6 separate regions of the Homo sapiens genome follow, and all the other regions are linked to region 1. Evidence: promoter capture Hi-C in 16 types of primary human blood cells and fetal thymus (Javierre and others, 2016). All regions are on one chromosome and are shown on one strand. Each heading gives the region's core, a stretch centred on a gene start or on the middle of the fragment in contact. The rest is flanking DNA. Distances are from core to core; before and after follow the strand shown. Region 1 holds the start of FAM110B (family with sequence similarity 110 member B). Region 2 overlaps LOC105375855 (a long non-coding RNA gene). Region 3 overlaps UBXN2B (UBX domain protein 2B). Region 4 has its middle 50 kb from the start of LINC03133. Region 5 holds the start of LINC03133 (long intergenic non-protein coding RNA 3133). Region 6 overlaps LINC03133 (long intergenic non-protein coding RNA 3133).

What was found. Contacts are between HindIII fragments. The CHiCAGO score rates a contact against its expected background, and 5 or more counts as called.
Region 2: a contact is called between a fragment that was not itself captured here and the fragment with the promoter of FAM110B in region 1, in 1 of 17 cell types (M2 macrophages). The highest score is 5.5, in M2 macrophages.
Region 3: a fragment that was not itself captured here is called in contact with the fragment with the promoter of FAM110B in region 1 in 1 of 17 cell types (monocytes); the score reaches 5.4 in monocytes.
Region 4: a contact is called between a fragment that was not itself captured here and the fragment with the promoter of FAM110B in region 1, in 4 of 17 cell types (M1 macrophages, monocytes, M2 macrophages and 1 more). The highest score is 6.6, in M1 macrophages.
Region 5: a contact is called between a fragment that was not itself captured here and the fragment with the promoter of FAM110B in region 1, in 2 of 17 cell types (M2 macrophages and monocytes). The highest score is 7.1, in M2 macrophages.
Region 6: a contact is called between a fragment that was not itself captured here and the fragment with the promoter of FAM110B in region 1, in 1 of 17 cell types (M2 macrophages). The highest score is 7.4, in M2 macrophages.

Annotation. Positions count from the first base shown.
Region 1 is chr8:57,993,035-57,996,475 of GRCh38, forward strand. It overlaps FAM110B (family with sequence similarity 110 member B), which reads left to right and starts at 1,489. Exons shown (of 4, transcript NM_001377989.1): 1 at 1,489-1,772. RefSeq lists silencers at 1,816-1,865, 1,886-1,935 and an enhancer at 1,940-2,440. The HindIII fragment of the contact is 13,337 bases long and covers 1-3,441 here.
Region 2 is chr8:57,490,597-57,494,037 of GRCh38, forward strand. LOC105375855 (a long non-coding RNA gene) reads left to right here. Exons shown (of 3, transcript XR_928920.3): 2 at 2,272-2,379. Among named protein-coding and RNA genes, the nearest start is that of LINC00588, 210 kb to the left of the region's middle. The HindIII fragment of the contact is 3,767 bases long and covers 1-3,441 here.
Region 3 is chr8:58,439,587-58,443,027 of GRCh38, forward strand. UBXN2B (UBX domain protein 2B) reads left to right here. Exons shown (of 8, transcript NM_001077619.2): 6 at 47-184. Among named protein-coding and RNA genes, the nearest start is that of UBXN2B, 30 kb to the left of the region's middle. The HindIII fragment of the contact is 837 bases long and covers 1,511-2,347 here.
Region 4 is chr8:58,320,192-58,323,632 of GRCh38, forward strand. No RefSeq gene overlaps it. Among named protein-coding and RNA genes, the nearest start is that of LINC03133, 50 kb to the left of the region's middle. RefSeq lists an enhancer at 1,706-1,855. The HindIII fragment of the contact is 775 bases long and covers 1,318-2,092 here.
Region 5 is chr8:58,271,817-58,275,257 of GRCh38, forward strand. It overlaps LINC03133 (long intergenic non-protein coding RNA 3133), which reads right to left and starts at 285. Exons shown (of 8, transcript NR_105005.1): 1 at 54-285. The HindIII fragment of the contact is 3,834 bases long and covers 1-3,441 here.
Region 6 is chr8:58,254,841-58,258,281 of GRCh38, forward strand. It overlaps LINC03133 (long intergenic non-protein coding RNA 3133), which reads right to left. Exons shown (of 8, transcript NR_105005.1): 6 at 2,947-3,005; 7 at 2,254-2,328; 8 at 931-1,253. Among named protein-coding and RNA genes, the nearest start is that of LINC03133, 16 kb to the right of the region's middle. RefSeq lists an enhancer at 811-2,722. The HindIII fragment of the contact is 739 bases long and covers 1,307-2,045 here.

The DNA of each region.
Region 1 (3,441 bases), core at 239-2,738:
TTTTCTGTCTCCATTGCTCAGTTTGGCTTTTTTTCTGGTTTTGTTTTATTCTCCAGTAAGTTGACTCCAGCTGCTGCACGCATATATGATATGGTCCCAGGAGCTGCCCTGTCAGTCAGGGAAAGGACCCTCCTCCTTTGTTCTCAGACGATATTCTAATTGGCTGGCCTGGGTCATATCCCTCACAATGTCAGGAAGCTCTGTGGGCTAGTCACACCCAATGGGAGGGGGAAATTCCTAAAAGGAAGGGATTGGGGCAAAGAAGTGGGGAAAAAAAGTATACTTGAGAGGGAGAGAAGTTGGTTCCATTTGCTATGGGAATGATGAAAAATAGTTTATTTCTATTGTTATATGACTTTTGGAGTTAATGGAGACCACAACGTAATCTGTGATAACAAGGAATGTATTAGTATGCCAAAGGAAAGTTCCATTTAAATCCCAGTATCATGTCACTTTCTTAAAATGGTAATCTTTAAATAGAAAAAAAATATATTATTATAAAGTCTGAGTTTTATTTAGTTGGCAACTTCTTAACTATTATGAAACAATAGATTCATTGAATTGAAGCACAATTCAAATATAAACGATCTTTCTGAGAAAATGAGATGAGTGAAATCGTATTGTTAATGTACCAGAGATTAAAAAGAAATCCTTGCTCAATATTTTCTAGAAGAAACAATTATTTTGTGAGTCCATATCCCATTCAAATTCATTTTGATAAAGATGGATTTTATCTTTTAGACTTCCCAATAGCAAAATTAAATTACAATGTGTTTAGTCTTCCTAAAACAAATCCTCTCCTGAAACAACCAAGTTATTAAGCAAATCTAAGCAGAAAGTATTCTCAAATACTATATTAGGCGATTAATAATGACGCACCCCAAAGCATTTCATTTTAAAACATCAGCTGGCCCACATTTCAGAGGTAGTACATCATGCTTGATATTTTTCGTTATTTACTATTTTCTCCAAACATTTTTTTGAAGTCTTAAAAATGCCTTCAGAAATTAAGCTAGGACGCTCCATCTGAGTATATGAAAGTTAGTAAACAGAAAATGTCAAGCACCAAGACGTTTGGATGGCTGGACTACCAGGTGGGGTTATCTCATTCAGGGCACAGGCTCTACGTCTCCAGTGCTGAGCGATCTGCACTGGGGTGGCAGTCCGAGATCCAGCGGTATCACCGGGTGGGAGCAGGGTGGGGGTGCTTGCGTGCGGACATAGGTGGGAGTGGGGGATAGGGAGGAAATGGAGGCGCCGACCGAGTGGAATGGGGGGTGGGTCAGGGATGGGGTGGGATGGGCATCAGTAGCGGGGTGGAGATGTTGAGAGAGAGGCAGGGCTTGGAGTGGAGGTGCGAGAAGGGTGGGGACCCGGAAGGTGGGGTGGGGGCGGGATGGAGGCGGGGCGGGGTGTACGAGGGGCGTGTACACTGGCTCAGGGACACGCGCTCTCGGCCACAGCAACTGGCTCCAAGTTCCCTCCCTCACTCTCCGGCGAAGCCTGCCTGAGCCCTCCCACTCGGTGCAGACCGAACCATCGCGGCCGCCGCCAGCCGGGCCCTTCGCGGCCGCGCGTCCTGGGCCCGTTCCGCCAGCCCCGTCTGCTCTCTACCCGCGGCCCCGCGGCGGCGACCGTGAACACTCGGCGGCCCCTACAGCCCGCTCTCGGCCCTTCGTCCCTCGCGGGCCCCGACTCTCCCTCCTTGCAGTCCCCCGGAGCCTGGCTCCCGGCTCGGGCCGCACCGCCAGGGACTGGGGTGAGCGGCCCAGGTAAGACTGGGCCGTGGGGGCCGGGAGAGAGACTGCTGGGCGGGGGTTGGGATTCGGGTTCAGTGGTCGCGCCGCGCCCCGACTGCGGACAATGCGGGAGCTGCGCGCGGCCAGGCGGCGCGGAGCTAAGCCGGCTCTGCGCCTGCAGCTTCCCCGCCCGGCCCGGGTCTCCGTTGAGCCCGGCCTCACTGGCCCAGGCGGACCCCGTCCGGCTTTCTGGGCTGCCGGGGGAGGCGCAGCGCCGCTGCCTGCCCCGCGCCCCCTCTGCGCTCGGCTTGGCTGCACGTCCCGGGCTCGGCTAGGAGGCTGGGCACGGGGCCGGGGCTGGAGCCGGGGTTGGAGCCAGGGCGGGGGGAAGCTGGCCGCGCTGCGGAGCGGAGGTGGGCTCCGAAAGCGCGCCGCCGGTTGCTGCTGGAGGAGTGGGACTACGAAGGATGGGGACTCCGCTCGGCCACCGCTCCTGAATGGTCTCTAATCTCGGTGTTAAATACTTTATGAGAGTATCAATACCACCTAATCCTTTGCTGAGAATTACTGCTAGAAATGTAGATTCTGAGGTTCCGAAAGTTTGTTTTTGGTTACCCCCTCCAGCTCCTCCCGTGGCCTCAATTGTCTCTATTTTCTTTGAAAGCATACAGATTTGAAATAGAATTAAATTCTCCTTGGCTCACTCGTGTCTCCATCACCCAGCGGAGCTCATAACTTGGCAACAAAGCCCATACAGGCTGTGGGAAGCCGCGATGCCTGCTGCCCAGCCTGGTGCCCTCCTATTGTTTAGAGCTGGAGCTGTACAGTGTAAATGGCAGTGACAGGTCTCCCTTAAGCTGGCTCGTGGGGAAGGAAGGGAGATAACTTTGCAGTGTGCTTAAATTACTCTGGAAAGTGGAAAGAAAACACCTGGTGCTCAGCTTTTTAACCCTTTCAAGTTGTTATTCAGATTTATTGACACACACACACAGAAAAGTGCAGGCTTTCTTTCCTGCCTAAAAAATAGGCAACCTCTGTGTTCTTCCTCACAGCCAACTTATGTCCTCTGCAAAATCTGGCACACATCTGTGACAACATTGCACTTCTGGCGTAACTGGTCTATTTCTCAAAAGGGAATATGATAGTAGAATAAGCATTTTTGCAGTATGGATAGTAGGACTTCCATTTTCTTCGTTTCCTTTGTTGGTGAAGAAGGTATTTATTATTTTCCCCCCAGTTTACACGTAGTGATTTCTGGGAAGATACTTGTATTAATTTCTTGTACTCATTTTTGTGACATCACAACCCCTGGTCATTCAGGTAAGCTATTTATTAAGCATAGTTATTCTAGAATAAAGGTGAGTTAATGGTAAACTAGAATCCTTCACTGATAACATCCCATTGGTTTACCCTACGGTATTTAATCTGTAGTATTACTATAGATTGTACATGTAAAGTCACTAATTGAACAGAGAGGTGGTTGGTGCCTTGTTAGCCTGACATAAAGTGCTTAGAACAGTGCCTTGCATATAGTTCTAGGTGTCAGCTAATATTACTTTTAATTTTTCTTATCAAGCTATGTGTTATTTTCTGTTTGGAAAATGGTCGTTTTGATTTTTAAAATTCTGATCTGTTAGGTCATGATCTATTTTAAGTCTGTGGTTTTAATTTTAGATCAGGGCTGAGGTTGGGTTGTTATTAT
Region 2 (3,441 bases), core at 571-3,070, 500 kb before region 1:
AGCATATCAGAATGTGACTGTGTTTGGAGATAAGGTCTTTAAAGAGATAATTAAGTTCTAATAAGGTAATTAGGTTGGGGCCTAATCCAATATGATTAGTGCCCTTATAAGGAGGGGAGATCAAGAAACAGACATAGACCTTCAGAGGGAAGACCATGTGAAGACACAGGGAGAAAATGGACATCTAGAAGCCAAGGAGAAAGCCCTCAGAAAGAAACAACCTTGCCAATGCTTTCATCTTGGATGTTTAACCTCCAGAACTATGATAAAATAAATCTCTAGTTTTAAGCCACTTAGTCTGTGGCACTTTGCTATGGCGCCCCAGCAAATGAATATCCCTGCCCTTCTATCGTCTTCATCCACCAACACTGTCATATAACCTGCTAGAACTCATGTTACAAGACTTTATGGAGAAAAAATAATGAGTGAGTTCAGATCTCAGAGCACCTTTCAGAGATTCATGACCTTTCTCCCTTCAAGTTCTTCACCTTTCTCCTCAGCCCAGAGCCTCTGCCTCCTTCCTGATCAAGGAAGTCTCACCTCCTCCGTTCCCATGCCAGATACATACAGACCTGGGTTTGAGTTCTTGTTTTCAGATGTTGGATATTTTTCCTCACCTAGTCACTTACCATTTTATTGTTAGTTTACTTACTTCTGAACTGAAGGAAATAATACCAGTCTAAAGGGCTGCGAGATTAAATGAGAAAATCTATGCAGAGTGCCCGACAGTGGCTGTCACAAATTGAGTGATCAAAAAATAATCTCTACCTCTCTCTTCTGCACAATCTCTATCTCTTCCTTTCCAAAACTGCTGGAAGAGAAAGGGGGATAAAGCAGTGATCTGGCTCCGAAAGTCCCCTCCAGACGTCATGGCTACCTTTTTTTCCTTGGTTTCCTGGGCAAGCCTGCCATCTAGGGGCATCTTCAGTTCCTTTCTCATCTACTCTCAGTGATGATATTCTCATCAGATTTTACACTGAAAATATTGATTTTGTGTGTGTGACGCAGGAACTCTGTCCTGCTGGATTATAAGAGGCTAAACTTTAAAGACTCCCTTGACTTCAATTTATGATATCAGTTGCAGCTGAGGTCCTGAAGCTGGAGTACTAAACCAAGCATGCCCATTTCATAAAAACATGTTTCCTATACCTTCCCGGAACCTCTTTCCTTCTTAGGCTTCATAGAAAGAGAGGTAAAACTCTCTGGCTGTGGGTGCAAAGCTATAGCATCACTTGCGTACAGAATCATGGTTCTACCCCATCTTCCTTTAGTAGCACTTAACATAGACATCATTTACTTACTTACCTGTTTATAGTCAGACTCCCACAACTGGGTTGTAATCTCCAGAATTACAACCTGATGAAATTGTAACCTGATGGAAAAATGAGCAAAAAAGCAATGGACATAAATGGAAGTATCTCCAAAAGAGACAAATCCCAAAGAGCAAGAATATTTTCCCCCATTCTGTTTCCTAGTGCCTAGCCTGTAGTAGACATTCCCTAAATCTTTGTTGAAAAAATTAGTGATTAAATTTTTTCTCTTATCTTCCTGGATTTTCAACCCTAGTCACACACAACCCACTACCCATAGGCCTTCCTCCAAGTTGTAGCTCTTTCTGACTTTCATCAGTTTCTGCAGCTTGCCTTGCCATTCAAGCAGCTTGACCTATTTCCCACTACCCCAGCATATTTCCCTCCTATTTGTAGTCTTTTTCTTTTTTAATTTTAATTTTGGCAAAATACATGTTCATAGCTGACATTTAATGGGACAAACGTCATATACGAAAAATACATGTGGCCCCTGCCTCATTCCTGCCAGCCCTTTCTTACTCTCCATCCTATCCCCAGTGGCATCGCTTTACCTATGGGTTTCCTGGCACTGACTTTCATATTTTCAGTAATATGTTCATGCCAGTTCCAGTGAGAGGACTGTTTGCCCCCAACCATAATAAAATCAGTACAGAAATTAAGTTTTAGAAATTTTTATAGCAATTGATATTGTCTCATTACCCTAAATCAAGACGATTTTCTCAAAATTTATTTTTATTGTCTTACAAAAGTATCTGCCTCTGGTGGGATGGAAAATAAAACAAAACAAAAATGGTTCCTTCTCCACAGAAAGCCTGAGTGTCAGTGCTCTGGGCCACCGCACAGTGATGCTAGAGTCTGTCATTCCAGTGCCCTGCGGGCCCCCTCGCTTTCTGCTCGGTGTTTATTCTTCAGCTCCTGAACACCAGGCTGTTCTCATTTTACCTTGTTTTTATTTGATCAGGTCAGTGAGAGAGCATATGCCCTGGTAGATTCCTGAGAAAAGGAACAGGAGGATGAGAGGTTCAATGTTTTACACATTGCTGGTCTGATAGCTCAGCTTCATTCACAGGTGAGTAGCAATTTTAGTTTGAAAATTATTTTCACTAAGAATTTAATGATATGACTCAATCATCTACTAGCATCCAATATTCTACTAAGAAGTTGAACGTCTTTCTTATTTCCAAAGCTCATTTTGTGGTATTTATTTATTATTCTCTCTATCAACACTCAGAGTTTTATTTATCCCCAGTGTTCTAAAATTTCATGAGTCAGTCATACTTTCAATGTTGGTAATTTTCTTTAATTATTTCACTGGAAATTTTCTTTCCAATGTTCTGTATTCTCTTTCTTCTGCTATAATACCTTTGGATCAAATATTGTTGAATTTTTTATTGATTTTTTTCCTCCCGCTGTCCATGTATCACTTGGTTCTCCTTGCTGACTGTGCAGACTGGGGTGGGAAAAAAACCAACCCTCACATAGAATTTCAACCAATTGCCGTTTCCAGCCCTTGCTTCACTCCACCTTCCATGGTATATGTGCTTCCAATTCCCAAGACTAAACAAATTTCATGAGTTTAATTATTTGTTTTATAACAGTCTTCCTCTCTGCAAGACTTACATTTCCTTTTTTTTTTTTTTGCACACTGCTAACTCAGTTTCTACTTCTTTACTTGCTTTACATATTATAGTTTGAAGTAACAAATGTCTCCAGTTTTATTGAAGTCGGAGATCCTGTTCTGTATACTTACTGCATTGAGATAATTCTAAGACAGGAGGGTGCAAAATCTGTGCTTTTGTGTTACTTTAAAACCAGAAGTCTTTCTCTTCTATTTTATTTGAATTCTAATCAACATACTTTTCCTCCAAGGAGCTAGGAGCTTTCTTGACTGACTCATGTCTTCTCACCACTTCCACATTCTATATGCTACTTATCTTTCTTTCTGGAGTTATCTATTTATAATTTGATTTATTTTAAGTTCCTTGATAGTAGAAACAAACCAAAACAAATTAAACAATAAACAAAACAACAGTCAAATGTATCTGCACACAGAGGACCTTATGTGCAGTTATCCAAAAGAGAAAGATGTTAGGACAATAAAGTGGAAGTGATTTTTTAAAAAAATCTTTCT
Region 3 (3,441 bases), core at 679-3,178, 450 kb after region 1:
ATTCTTGGAAAACTTAATGATAACTTTTTTCCCCCCTTTTTAAAAGAGAGATTCCCCTGGAGCTTCAGCGCCTTGTTCATGGTGGCCAAGTGAATTTGGATATGGAGGATCATCAGGATCAAGAATACATAAAACCTAGATTGAGGTTCAAGGCTTTTAGTGGAGAAGGGCAAAAACTTGGAAGGTAAAAATCCTAAAATGAGAAAAATACCTTTGTTGAACATGAATTTTTCTTTGAGAATAAGAAAAGCAAAATGACCTATGAAGTAAAAAACAAAAATATGAACCATGCACATTAGATATATACATCTGTTAATATTATATCATAATATTATATCATGTGATACCATTATATCATAATATTAATTGTGATATTAATAATACTGTAATTAATACTTAGATTGCAGTTACCATGTTTGTGGCCCTCTAAGCCGTATACATGTGTTATCTCACTTAATCTTTACAACAGCTCTTTGATGTAGATACTGTTATTACTTCATTTTGCAGATGCAGTAATTTGCCCAAGATTGTTGAGCTAAGAAATGACTAGCATGTGGGATTCAAACCCAGGCACTCTGACTACAGAGTTTGTGCTTTTCACCACTATATTATATGCCTCTTTCAGATTACCTGGTTTCAAAGGAGAGAATTGTAAAGGGTTGTCGATGAGATAAAATAATGGATACCTTACATCACAACTTAAGCATGCATGTCTGCCATCAGTAATGACCAAACTCTTGCAGCAGGAGCAATGTGCTTAGCTTTGTGATTTTCAATAGTTTTTAAACAGCCAAACCCTTTTTTCAAGTCATGGAAGTGCAATATGTAAAACCTGAGCTCCTCTGATTGTCGGTGAAAGAAGGCATTGTATCTGAGACATTTCCAAAGAACCTTAGGACTTTGAAGAGCACAATTTAAAAACCAACGCACATGGCAGAATGTATGAGTGGTTTCCTTTATAATACCCATGGCTTAATGTAATCTTAGAAATTTAAAATATGTTGGTAAAAGTTACCCTCTACTCGTCCACATATTGTTGCAGGTGATATGGAATTGCCACATTGGCAATGTTTCCAGTGTATTCTTTGGTGCATCCTTTGCTTCTCTTCATGTGATTCCTTCCCTTCCAAGCCCCCTTCAGTTGCCTCGTGTACACTGGTTGTCTATTCTCCCCTTATTTTTCAAGATAGGAAAAAATTCAATATTGCTTCTTTATGCTTTGCTATCTCTAGTCTCCCTTTCTGTATTCTCTTCTCCTGATAGAGACTGGCACTGGGGACATAAAGGAAATACAGGAATTTATGTTGACCTGTTTTTCTTAGGACACAAACTCTTTAATTTTAGGTCACAGGTTTACTTGGAAATTTTCTCCCTCGTCTCTCTTTACACGTCAGGCTTCTCTTTCTTTCTCTTTTTTTTTTTTTGAGATGGGGTCTTGCTCTGTTGCCCAGACTGGAGTACAGTGGTGTAGTCATAGTTCACTGCAGCCTTGACCTCCTGGGCTCAGGCAAGCTTCCTACCCCACTCTCCTGACTGGGACTATAGGCACTGCCGAGCGCAGCTCATTTTTTTTCATTTTTAGGTTTTGTAGAGACACGTGTCTTACTATGTTGCCCAGGCTGGTCTTGAATTCCTGGCCTCAAGCTGTTCTTCTGCCTTGGCCTGCCAAAGTGCCTGGGTTACAGGCATGAGCCACTATGCCTGGCCAGGCTTCTCTCAAATTGTATAATATTATGTTTTTACTCCTCTTGTTGTGATCAACATATATATATATATATATATGTATGTGTATATATATGTATGTATGTGTATATATAGTATGTATGTATGTTCTTAATTTTGTATCACTTCCCATTTTTACTTAATATTTATTGAGATTACGATTTTTAATTAGAATGCAGATAAAATGCCTAGTCATCTCTTCAATATATACATATTCCTTCTCTATTATTTAAATGTATGACCAAGAATTAATGTTGGACCGCACATCCTTGTTAGTAGACCTACAGTAAATCTAGACTTGGAATTGAAGAAGGTAGCATAAAGGGAAGGCAGCTAAGAAGAGCCAGTGATTATTAAACTCATGAAAATAACGATATTATCTGATGATAGTATTCACAAAGGCCAGTCATTTTCCTTATAAGGCAAATAGAGAAAATAACAGAAAAGAAAGGAGAAACTGATGGAAGAAAGTGACAGAGATCAGTGGTAATAATGCCATGTTAATTTACTAGCCATATTGATCAAGATTTTGATTATGGAAAACAGAATCTACTTGCTGGTAGTAATAGGTTTCTTACAGGATCTTGTGTAGTTTATAGAATATCTGGAAGAGGCAAGCAAACCAAGCTTTCCTTAGCCAGGAGAAACAAACACAGTGGAAGAGTGTTCCAGAGAAAACAACTATGTCCCCTAGTCAGGTGCTTGGTGCCCATGAAACTAGGGACTAGATACTAGAACATTCCATCATCGAAGAAATAAATGCCTCCACCACCTTAGTAACCACAAGAGCTACAGAGTTTCCACTTTGCAGTGCTTACTTCCACCAAACAAGTGTATGTTTGTTTGGTGGAAGGGTAGAATCATGAAATCCTAGCTGCAAGAGAGTCTGGGAGATGGAGTCTTTAGAATTTTCAGCTTCTAGTAGAAGGAGATAGCATGATGATGTGAGCCTATGTGTTCACAAACCCAAATGTTGAATAAGCAAATATCATATATTCTAAAGTGAAGAATTACATAGAACATTTTATATTAAAGATTTACATTAAGAAATATATTAAAAGTTTAATAGTTAACCTTCATTTAGAAAGTAACTTTCTAAAATGGCTTGGTTCTCAAGAGTTCAAGACAATTATTTACTGAGCAGGAAATAAAAAGAAGCAAGTAAAACAGAAATGAAAATAATCTATTGTCTTCCATAGATGGCAGTCTAATTACACACAGAATGTTACATAGATGGGAACTAAATCTTTTCATGTGATATACAATTATGGTGCAAACCAAAATGCTGTAAAAATGTTACATAGTACCCTCACATAATAGAAGAAAGCAAACCATAGATATAAAACTGCAAATTTGCAATGGTAGAACAAACTGTATTATTGAGTAAAAATTAGCTTGGTGAGCTAGAGTAGTGCCTAACAAAATCACAGAGTCATTTTTAATAGGGAGGACTAGCGAGTAGGCATTCTTGGTAGGCTTTTGAGCTGGCGTGTATAATGATAAAAATCATGATTTGAAGCTGATGTTTCTGCAGAAGAACAGTCACTGCCTGTTTGTCCTACTGTTCTCTTCAAAAGATTGTGCTTGCCACTCTCACTTACCTGAGATTTGACTTCATCTGGGGCCCTAGACCCTGAGGGCTGTCTTCTCTAAAACTTCAAAGCCTTACTTTATCTCAGCTCCTCAACAGCTGTGAGCTGACTGAAGCCTGACTGGGTT
Region 4 (3,441 bases), core at 455-2,954, 330 kb after region 1:
TGTGACACAGCCTCTCCCTCTGGGAGCTCTGAAGTTAGAACATCCAATTCACTGCAGGCCATATATACTTGCATCGACCATCAATAGGTGTGAGCTGCCATGAAGGAAACCATGGGTGAGACAACTCTCTTCAAGAGAGGCAGGTCCTAAAGAAAGACTTAGCAGAAGACTGTCAACAGTCCTATCATCTGGAAGAATTAGTGCTTCAGCCCCAAAAATGGGTATCTGGAAAAACTGGTGCTTCAGCCCTAAAGACATCTGGTCAGTGCAACAGAGCATCTGCTATGGGAAGTTATTAGGGGGTATTGAGCAAGGAAATGGCATGATTGGAATCATACTTTTAAGGAACACTCTTGTTGCTACACTGAAAATGATTGTTGGGAGTAAGAGCACCAGTAAGGAGACCAACTAGAAAGTGAGTGGCCAATTTAGGCTTCTGACCCTGCACTGTCTAGAAAGTAAGCCAGGAAGCAGTGTGGAGCCTGCTAAATGTCCAAAGCAATTCCTTTGTCATATCAGGGAATCAGAACATCCATTGGAAGATCCTATTTATTATTTCAATATAAGCAAGAATATCTGCAGAAAGTTACAAGAAGCCCAGGAGACATCATCAGTCTCAGATCCAAGAGAGACAATGCCATGACCACTTGCAACAAATACAATAATAATTTGGTCCAGAAAACGGATGATCCTAAAAGGAAGGACCTGCACCATAAAGGTGGCTTTGCTACATCCATTTTAAAAGTAGGGAAATGGTGTGGCTGCTAATTCAAATTGAAATCTTTGGCCCAGGCTGCAAAAAACTTTACTGCAACAAAGTAAAATAGGTATATATGCAAAGTTCTAGTGAAATTTAATGCTAAATCATCTAATATATGAATTCATCAGATCATAGATTTAATTACTAAATATTTTGCCAATTTGGATCTTAAAATATCTCCCCTCGGCCGGGCGTGGTGGCGCACACCTGTAATCCCAGCACTTTGGGAGGCTGAGGTGGGCAGATCACGAGGTCAGGAGATTGAGACCATCCTGGCTAACACGGTGACCCTGTCTCTACTAAAAAATACAAAAACTTAGCTGGGTATGGTGTCAGATGCCTGTAGTCCCAGCTACTCGGGAGGCTGAGGCAGGAGAATGGCATGAACCCAGGAGACGGAGCTTGCAGTGAGCCAAGATTGGGCCACTGTACTCCAACCTGGGCAACAGAGCGAGACTCCGTCTCAAAAAAAAAAAAATCTCCCCTCAAGGAACTGGTTCTGAAACTTTTGTATGCATGGGAACCACTTTGGATGCTTGTTTAAAATGCAAATTCCAAGCTTCAACCCCAAAGACCTGGTGCAGGGTGTGGACCAAACACCCAGGATGACTCTGAGGAAGTTGGGTGATGGACAGTCGTGAGAAGCACCATCTAGGGAACATTCACCAGAAAGCAGAAGGCAGCATGAGCAATCGTATGCAAGTGGAAATAGATCTGTAATTGTTGTTACCATAAACAGCCTCTGTCCAAAAAAGTTGTCACCCTTCAATATGCCTGAGTTTAAAATTTTCCTCAGTCTCAAGGTTCTGTAAACCCAAGTTCATCATGCTAGCTGCAGAAAATAACAGCTGAAAGTGGTTAGCCAAAGGAAGTACCACAGACTAAATCACAGGAAGATGGGTAATCATGTGTACTTACTGCCGCATCTGCTGCAGTGCACAAGAAAGTTTTGGTTTCACACCGAAGAAAGAATAACTTAAAATCCCATAAATAATACATTGAAGAGAGAAAAGTCATTCTAGTGCTGTATCTGGAGAGGCCCTGCAAAGATAAAAGGCTCTGTTCAGTGTTTATCTTGCTGCCAGAGAACAAGGCAAGCAGTGAGGCAGGGTTGTAATTGACCCAAAAGCACATATGAGAAATGAACCAAGGAGAGTGTGCAGTTAAAAGCCTCATATAAAAAGAGAGCTGTAAAGTAAAAGTCCGGCAAATCTGCATTTCAAACGATATGAAAATATGTTTGATCTAGTATACCGATGCACTAAATTTGCATAAAATTCAACCTTTTGTCCTGGTGTGATTGGAAAGGTGCAAAAATTAATTTGAGGTTAAAGCTTTAGCATCCTATCTCTCTTAGACATAAAAAGGACATAATTAACCAGAACAGCTGGTTACAACCTTCATTGGAAACTCTGGGAAGCCAATGTATTCCATTACTGATCCTAGAAGGTAAAATCTACAACAGATATTGATTTGGTAATCCAAGATTCTTATCAATTCTGACCTACATAAAATCTAGTTGTCTTATAGTACCATGTAACTTGTGTCACAGCATCCATTTAATTGAATACTTATGTGAGTAGATGTTTAAAGCTGCCTCTGACTGAAGTTCTATTATCAAACCTGGAAGGAAGGAAGAAAAAGACTGTCATTTCATAATGGCTTGATACAGGAAATTATATTTAGTATAAAAGTTAATTATTAATCATATATAGGAGCCAAGAAATAAAACAGAACAAAAGTTATTACTTTGATATTTATAATGTTTTATAGATTTATCTTGTCAACTGTTTTTTTCTTGGAAAAATACTGTATTTAAGTTTTGTTTTATGCTCACCATCACTGGCCATCAGAGAAATGCAAATCAAAACCACAATGAGATATCATCTCACACCAGTTAGAATGGCAATCATTAAAAAGTCAGGAAACAACAGGTGCTGGAGAGGATGTGGAGAAATAGGAACACTTTTACACTGTTGGTGGGACTGTAAACTAGTTCAACCATTGTGGAAGTCAGTGTGGCGATTCCTCAGGGATCTAGAACTAGAAATACCATTTGACCCAGCCATCCCATTACTGGGTATATACCCAAAGGACTATAAATCATGCTGCTATAAAGACACATGCACACGTATGTTTATTGCGGCATTATTCACAATAGCAAAGACTTGGAACCAAGCCAAATGTCCAACAATGATAGACTGGATTAAGAAAATGTGGCACATATACACCATGGAATACTATGCAGCCATAAAAAATGATGAGTTCATGTCCCTTGTAGGGACATGGATGAAATTGGAAATCATCATTCTCAGTAAACTATCGCAAGAACAAAAAACCAAACACCGCATATTCTCACTCATAGGTGGGAATTGAACAATGAGAACACATGGACACAGGAAGGGGAACATCACAGTCTGGGGACTGTTGGGGGGTGGGGGAGGGGGGAGGGATAGCATTGGGAGATATACCTAATGCTAGATGACGAGTTAGTGGGTGCAGCACACCAGCATGGCACATGTATACATATGTAACTAACCTGCACATTGTGCACATGTACCCTAAAACTTAAAGTGTAATTTTAAAAAAGTGAAAAAAATAAAAAAATAAAAAAATTTTTAAAAAAAAAAGATTTTTTTTTACTCTTTTATTCTGAGCACACTCACAATGAATGGGAGGCA
Region 5 (3,441 bases), core at 501-3,000, 280 kb after region 1:
GAAAGTTAAGTAACCTGACCAAGATCAGAGAGTGAAGAAGCCTGGGCACTTACAGGGAATCTAAGAACTGCCAGGGATGGAATCACATCCTCCGCGCTTAGCTTTGAAAGACTGTTAACATTGCAGCATGATGCCATGTCCAACAAGCAGAACAGCGGGGAAAATTAAGAGTAGCTTGTAAGGGTACCTCAGAGTAGTCTCACAGAGTGCCACCAACTGTCCCAGGGAGCACAGAAAGCAATCTAGGACCCACTGAAACCATCCCAGAGATGAGGTGCAGAAGTCACATGTGGAGGCCTGAGGTTGGGACAAGAAGGCCACAGAGAGCAGAAACCTCACAAAGGGCATTGTGTGGGCACAGTCAGCACTGAGCCCCAGCACAAGGCTCAAACCATGCAGAAGGCACCAGCCACACCTCAAGGGACAACAAAGGATGCCCAGAAGAGGCAGGATTCAGAACAGAGACCCCTTTTGCTACAACCACAAAGTGCTCCTAGGCTCAGATGCCTTGTGGGAGACAAGGAGATCCTGAAGAGAAGAACCCTGAGAGACCAGAGGCAGCTCTGAAGGGAGATGGAGCTTTGAATTGACTAAATATTTTCAAGATTTTTTAAATTAAAAGTGATACACGGGATAGCAATTTCAAGGGTTTTCTTCCACCCATTTGTAGGTGACATGAGAATTTTAAAATAACATGAGGTCCTTTACAGAAAAAGTTTCACTTGATGATTTTTTTGCCCCTGAGTCTGAGCACGCACATTTTGACCTTCCTCTCTCACACCAGTGAACGGGCAGTTGCAACACAATGTGTTAGGGTGCCCTTGGGGAATTGCCAAGTCTTCTGAGAAGATCTAAGCTGATAGTGGGAGGGTAGGCATCGACCTGGGAAGGGTGCTGGGAGAGGGGAGGGTTCCGTGAGCCTATCTCCAAGCCTCTCAGCTGATTGAAAGATAAAGATGGAACATGATGTGTCTGTAGAACTTCAAGGATACTGTTAGAGCTGGAATTTTCAGTAAAAGGGGGAAAACAGAAATGAGGGTAGAAGTCAGCGGGAGGTGGGCCATGATGGAATGTGTGCTCAGTTCTAATTAAGTGAATTCAACATAATCCCCCATAAAAATACAATAGGATTGTTCTGGAACTAGAAAAGCTGGTTCTAAAATTAATAATGAAAACTATAAAGCATAAAAACCAGAACATTTCTAAAAAGCAAGAGTAATAAGGGATAATTTATTATAACATATTACAAATTTCTATCATTGTTCTCTAATATAATAAAAAATAGTATGGAACTGGTATATATAGTAATTTAGTATATGATGAAAGTAGCATTTCAAATCAATGAGAGGATTAATAATTCAGTTTATGGTGTTTGAGCATCTAGAAAAAATAATAAAGTTGGATCCATACCACACAACTGATGCCAAAATAAATGTCACAGTTTTCGATGAGTAAAAGTTTAAATGTCAAAAATGAAACCTTTAAAATTCTAGAAGAAGTCATAAAATTAAAAAAATACTAATAATCTCAGACTAAGGAGGATCTTTCTCAGTCTGATGCACAACTCAGAAGCCAGGACTTTTTGATAAACTTGATAACATAAAACTATTTCTCATAGAGAAAAATGTCACAAAAAAAGTTAAGACAATGACAAATGAAACAAAAATGAACAAACAAAACTTCCTTCCACAAGGAGCTAATTTCTTTAATTTATAAAGAGAAAGAACAACAGTATAATGACCCAAATAAGAAATAGCTCACAAAAAAAGCAAGTGTGAATGGTCTTAGACATATAATATTTTCAACTGCATTTGTCATAAGAGAAATGCAATTTAGAATTACCATGACACAGCCGGGCACAGTGGCTCACGTCTGTAATCCCAACACTTCAGGAGGCTGAGGTGGCTAGATCACCAGAGGTCAGGAGTTTGAGACCAGCCTGGCCAACATGGCAAAACCCCGTCTCTACTAAAATAAAAATAGAAAAATTAGCCAGGCATGGTGGCACGTGCCTGTAGTCCCAGCTACTCAAGAGGCTAAGGCAGGACAATCGCTTGAACCCAGGAGGCGGAGGTTGCAGTGAGACGAGATCATACCACTGCACTCCAGCCTGGGTGACAGAGTGAGACTCTGCCTCAAAAAAAAAAATTACCACGACACACGGGTTCTTACTTGTCAGGTGGACAACAGTTCAGTGAGGGAGCTCCCTGGCTTTTGCAGGGCAGAGATACACAGATCCTTCTTGGCAGAGCCAGGACCTGGGCAGCTGATGGCTCTTGAAGGCAAAGGTTTTCAACCCTTAGCATCACCTGAAGACCTTTAAAGTTCCCAATGCCCAGGCGACAATCTGAATCTTTGAGGTGGAACCCAGCCATTAGTATTTCTCAGATGCCTGCGTGATTTCCATGTGAGAGAAGGGTGTGAATCGCTGCTGGAGGGCTGTTAAGAAGTTAGCCTGCAGATATACTCATTCATGTATAAAATAATATGGAAAAGAATAGTCTTTGAAGCGTGGTTTGCCATAGCAAGAACAGGCAACATAATAAACATCCCTCAGTAAGAAATTGGTTAGATGTATCAGTGGTTTCTCCAAATAATGGAATACTGTGCAGACAGCAATTCTATATACACTGACTTGGAGCAATTGCCATAATGTACAGTGTTTTTAAGTGAAAAAAAGTAAAGTGTAAAAAGTGTGACTGGAGTATCAGCATTTGTGTACACATTTTGAAAGGAATCAAAAATTTCCACATTGATTATATATTCTAGTTTACTGGAATGGAATAATTTTTTTTCTTTTTTTTCTTTGAAACGGAGTCTCGCTCTGTCACCTGTGCTGGAGTGCTGTGGTGTGATATTGGCTCACTGCAACTTCTGCCTCCTGGGTTCAAATGATTCTCGTGCCTCAGCCTCTCGAGTAGCTGAGATTACAGGCACGCACCACCATGGCTGGCTAATTTTCTTGTATTTTTAGTAGAGACGGAGTTTCACCATGTTGGCCATGCTGGTCTCAAACTTCTGGCCTCAAGTGATCCACCCACTGCGGCCTCCCGAAGTGCTGGGATTATACCGCACTTGGCCATGCAATGGAATAATTAATTTACCTGAAATGACTACTGTTACCATGCAAGGCATGTGTATTACATTGAGAGAAGGTATAATTCTTCATGATATTGCAGGGGCTAAGACATACACAAAAAATATAAGTAGATATGTGAAGAGTGGACACTAATGTTTCCAAGTAAACATTTCTGGACAAATAGACTTCTTTTTTGGAAAGACTGCTTATTTACTGATAAATTCCAGAGGAATTAATTTGTAATCTGGTCAGGATGTGTTTATGAGCTAATACATTCATTTTCCTCTCACCAAAAAAAAAAGAAGAAAGAAAAAAAAATGCCTATCATCTAGCATGCAATTCAGATAATGGAAATTGGCACA
Region 6 (3,441 bases), core at 426-2,925, 260 kb after region 1:
ATTTACAGAGGCACCAAGTACCCCCTCACAGAATATTAATAACAGAGAAAAATGGTAGCTTTACAGTGGAGGATCATGGACTACATCATCTCAATTAAGGAATCAAAGTTAACATCATCGATATTGGTACAAACCAGATCCATATGCCTCCTGATACTGTGTGTTGAAAGAGACTCAGTGTCACGTCAGTGTGCCTGACACACCGCATACCTGACAATACACATAACAAGAATCTAATCATGAGGAAATAGCCATGCCCAAAATGAGGAACATTCTGTAAAATAAATACCCAATTCTCCTTCAAACTGGCAATGTTCATAAAGATTCTTTTAAGTTTGGGGAGTGTTTTGGGTTAAAGGTTGCTAAATCAGCCTGGCAGCAAAGTATAATTGTAATACTGGATTCAATTCAGCATGAAAAAATAAAATTAGCTATAAAGCACCACTCTGGGATAACTGGCAAAATTTCTCTGTGACTTGACTAATGGTAATGTGTCTATGTTAAATTTCCCAATTTTGAAAACTGTACTGTGGTTATGTAAGATAATGTCCTTGTTCTTAAGAAATACACTGAAGTATTTAGCAATAAAAGGGCCCAATGTCTCTACATTACTCTCAAGAGGTTCAGAAAATATGTATACATAAATATTTAGTAAGAGAATAATAAATCAATGGGACAAAATATAAACAACTGGTGAATATGAGTAAAGGGATAAGTGATTTCCTAACACGATTTTTGCAACATGTCTGAAAGTTTAAAACTATTGCTAAATTAAAAGTTACAAAAAAAAGTGTAAAAAAAAATCTATGGTGCCAAGATTACATTTTGTGGTAATAACCATATGGATATAAAGAAAATAGGAGGACTTAGGTTTTATTTCCATTGAAAAACAATGAGTAGATAAAATTAGAGGTCAACAACTAAGACAGATCCGATTTTTGCATTCTGCTTCATTGCCATAGAAAGTAAACAAGAACAAAAGATCAGAATTTTGTTTCCTGACTGTAAAACTTCGTCACTTGTCTTTTTTCTGATTTGCTTTCCAGTCTCTCACGTCTGGAATTCTCGAAATCACTGGTTCCAACTGGATCACTCTCCGCAAATGGCCTCAGCATTAAAGAATGATCTCTTTTTATAAACTTCAACAGAAGGTAATCAAATACAGTATTTATCATAGCAAAATAGTGGGAACATGGGAAAATGCCTTTCCAGCTGGTTCTCATGTTTTCCTGAGAGGCTTTAGATATTGCAGCCTAAATAATTTTAGAAAAAATTCTCAGCTCAAATTAGTAAGTAGATGGCTGAAAGCTTATTTTATTTGCAAGGAGACACTATAATTGGACTTTGAGAAAGGGAAAAAAAAGGCATGATTATATTGCTGTGGTGTTGAATTGCAGAGAAGAGGGATGGACTTAAATTTATAATGTGGGTTGAACTTTTCCCATTTGTAGAGACCTCTATTGTGGAAATAAAAACGTTGTATGTAGTTTTTGTTTACTTCTCTCACCAATTCTGGGTTCTCCAATCCCAAATAATTTTTTTCCCAAAGCTGTAATTACTGAGATTACAAATAATTCGAAGCATTGCAGCTGGTCCTGTTCTGGCATAATTCCAACACATAATCACCTGTCGTGTGCACTAATTCCTGCCATGATTAAGCCCCTTTATTCGAAGTAGGGTTTGACAGCTCTATTGTTTAAAATGTCACCCATTAATAGAACAGGCATGGGCTTGTCTGTACTTGAACTAGTTTCCTTGCATATTTCCTATGTCAGCCTCAGTTAAGCTGTTGTACTGTGTATGTGATGAGTGATCACTTTTCCTGAAGCCTGATATTGTCAATAAAAGACTAATGATATGTGAGACCACAGCTTAGTTAGATATAAACATAGATTCAAACAAAGCCTTCTAGAAAACATTGGAAAGAGAATTTAATGGGCTCCACACTAGAGCAGTAGACACAGAATTGTTTTGGTGTCTTTTAAGACAAAAGGGCCACACTTACACATGACGATAATACCGTTTTTCCTTGTTGTGGGAAAACAAGCTTCTGACTGAACCTGAAAATTTACCATTTGAAAATGTCTCTACAATATATTTTTAATATATTACTTTTAATGAAGGTAATCTTTTCAAAATCTTTTTGTTATTTTTCTAAAACTCAACTCTAAATGCTAATTAAATGTGACAAATCTTATGAAACTGCTTACAGGGATACAGAGCCTACTTCAAGTAAAAGAAGAAAGTAAATACCTTCTATAGGTGACCTTGAAAATGGTAAATTACAACCACTGATTTTGTTGTTCGAACTGAAAATTTTGTGCGATCCTAAAAAGCTCCATTGAGAAAAATTGGCACAGTCCTAAACTGACCCAAATGGAGATGCCAGAAGGAATAAGGAAGGCTTTGTGTTAATGCTTAAGTTCCATCTCCCGACCATATCTTATTCAAATTCATGCATGCTTTGCTAATATCTTTCACCTGCTACTGTTAGCATTTGTGGTTGCAGCTAGATTTCTACAGTTCTTAATCAAATAGCAGCCTCCTTCTGTTTCTGTAACCCACAAAGACCATGTGATCACGTCTGCAGTCATTTCCATTGTCTACTGTTTGCCTAAAGTTTGATCACAGACCACAGCAAGTTACAGTGATTGTGCAGAGAGTTGTCTGAGAAGAATGTCTTTCCCAGATCTATTTGGTCCACCAGCTGCAAAGGTCAATCATAGATAGATAGTATCAGAACTCCCAACTCCTACATTTTCAGCCTGTACCCAGAAGGAGGGCCCTTCTGATTGCTGACTCAAGACCTTCACTCACTTGCATTATTTTATCACCAAGTCCTAGCACTTCCCTTATACATATTGAAGATTTTATTCCTAATGGATCAAGAAGCTTGAAAGGCCAATCAAAAAGCTATCCTCTCAGCCAATAAGAGGTAAAGGATACATGTTTTTTTTGAAAAAAGAAAAAAAAAACTTTTGTCCTTGGGTCAGCCTCTCAGTGACCTATAGGAAAAAACAGACAGAGAGTCTTTAGGAGGTATAAACAGAAAAGAATTGATACTTGGGAAAAAGATTTTAAGAGTGGAGGATTCTAAATATAGTTTCAGAATTCTGCCTTTCTATCAGCACAATATAAAGTCATTTGACATGTTGTTTGTGCTTTCATTCCAAGAAGCACATAGATGAATGGGCGTGGAGAGAGCCAGGCATCAAGCCAATGCATTGTGTAGGGGCTCTGTCCTGGGCAAATTTTCCCTTTCCCTCCTCCTCCTTCCCTAAATCCCAACATGCTGCCAACAAACAACTCTAGCCAGGACAGATAAATTTCACCACTTGTAAAATTAGGCAAATATGTAGATAGCAGAGCAAATTGTTACTTAGACTGTGCCATGTTTCTAAAAATAAAAACAGTAACAATTACCCTTGAAACTGCTTGTTA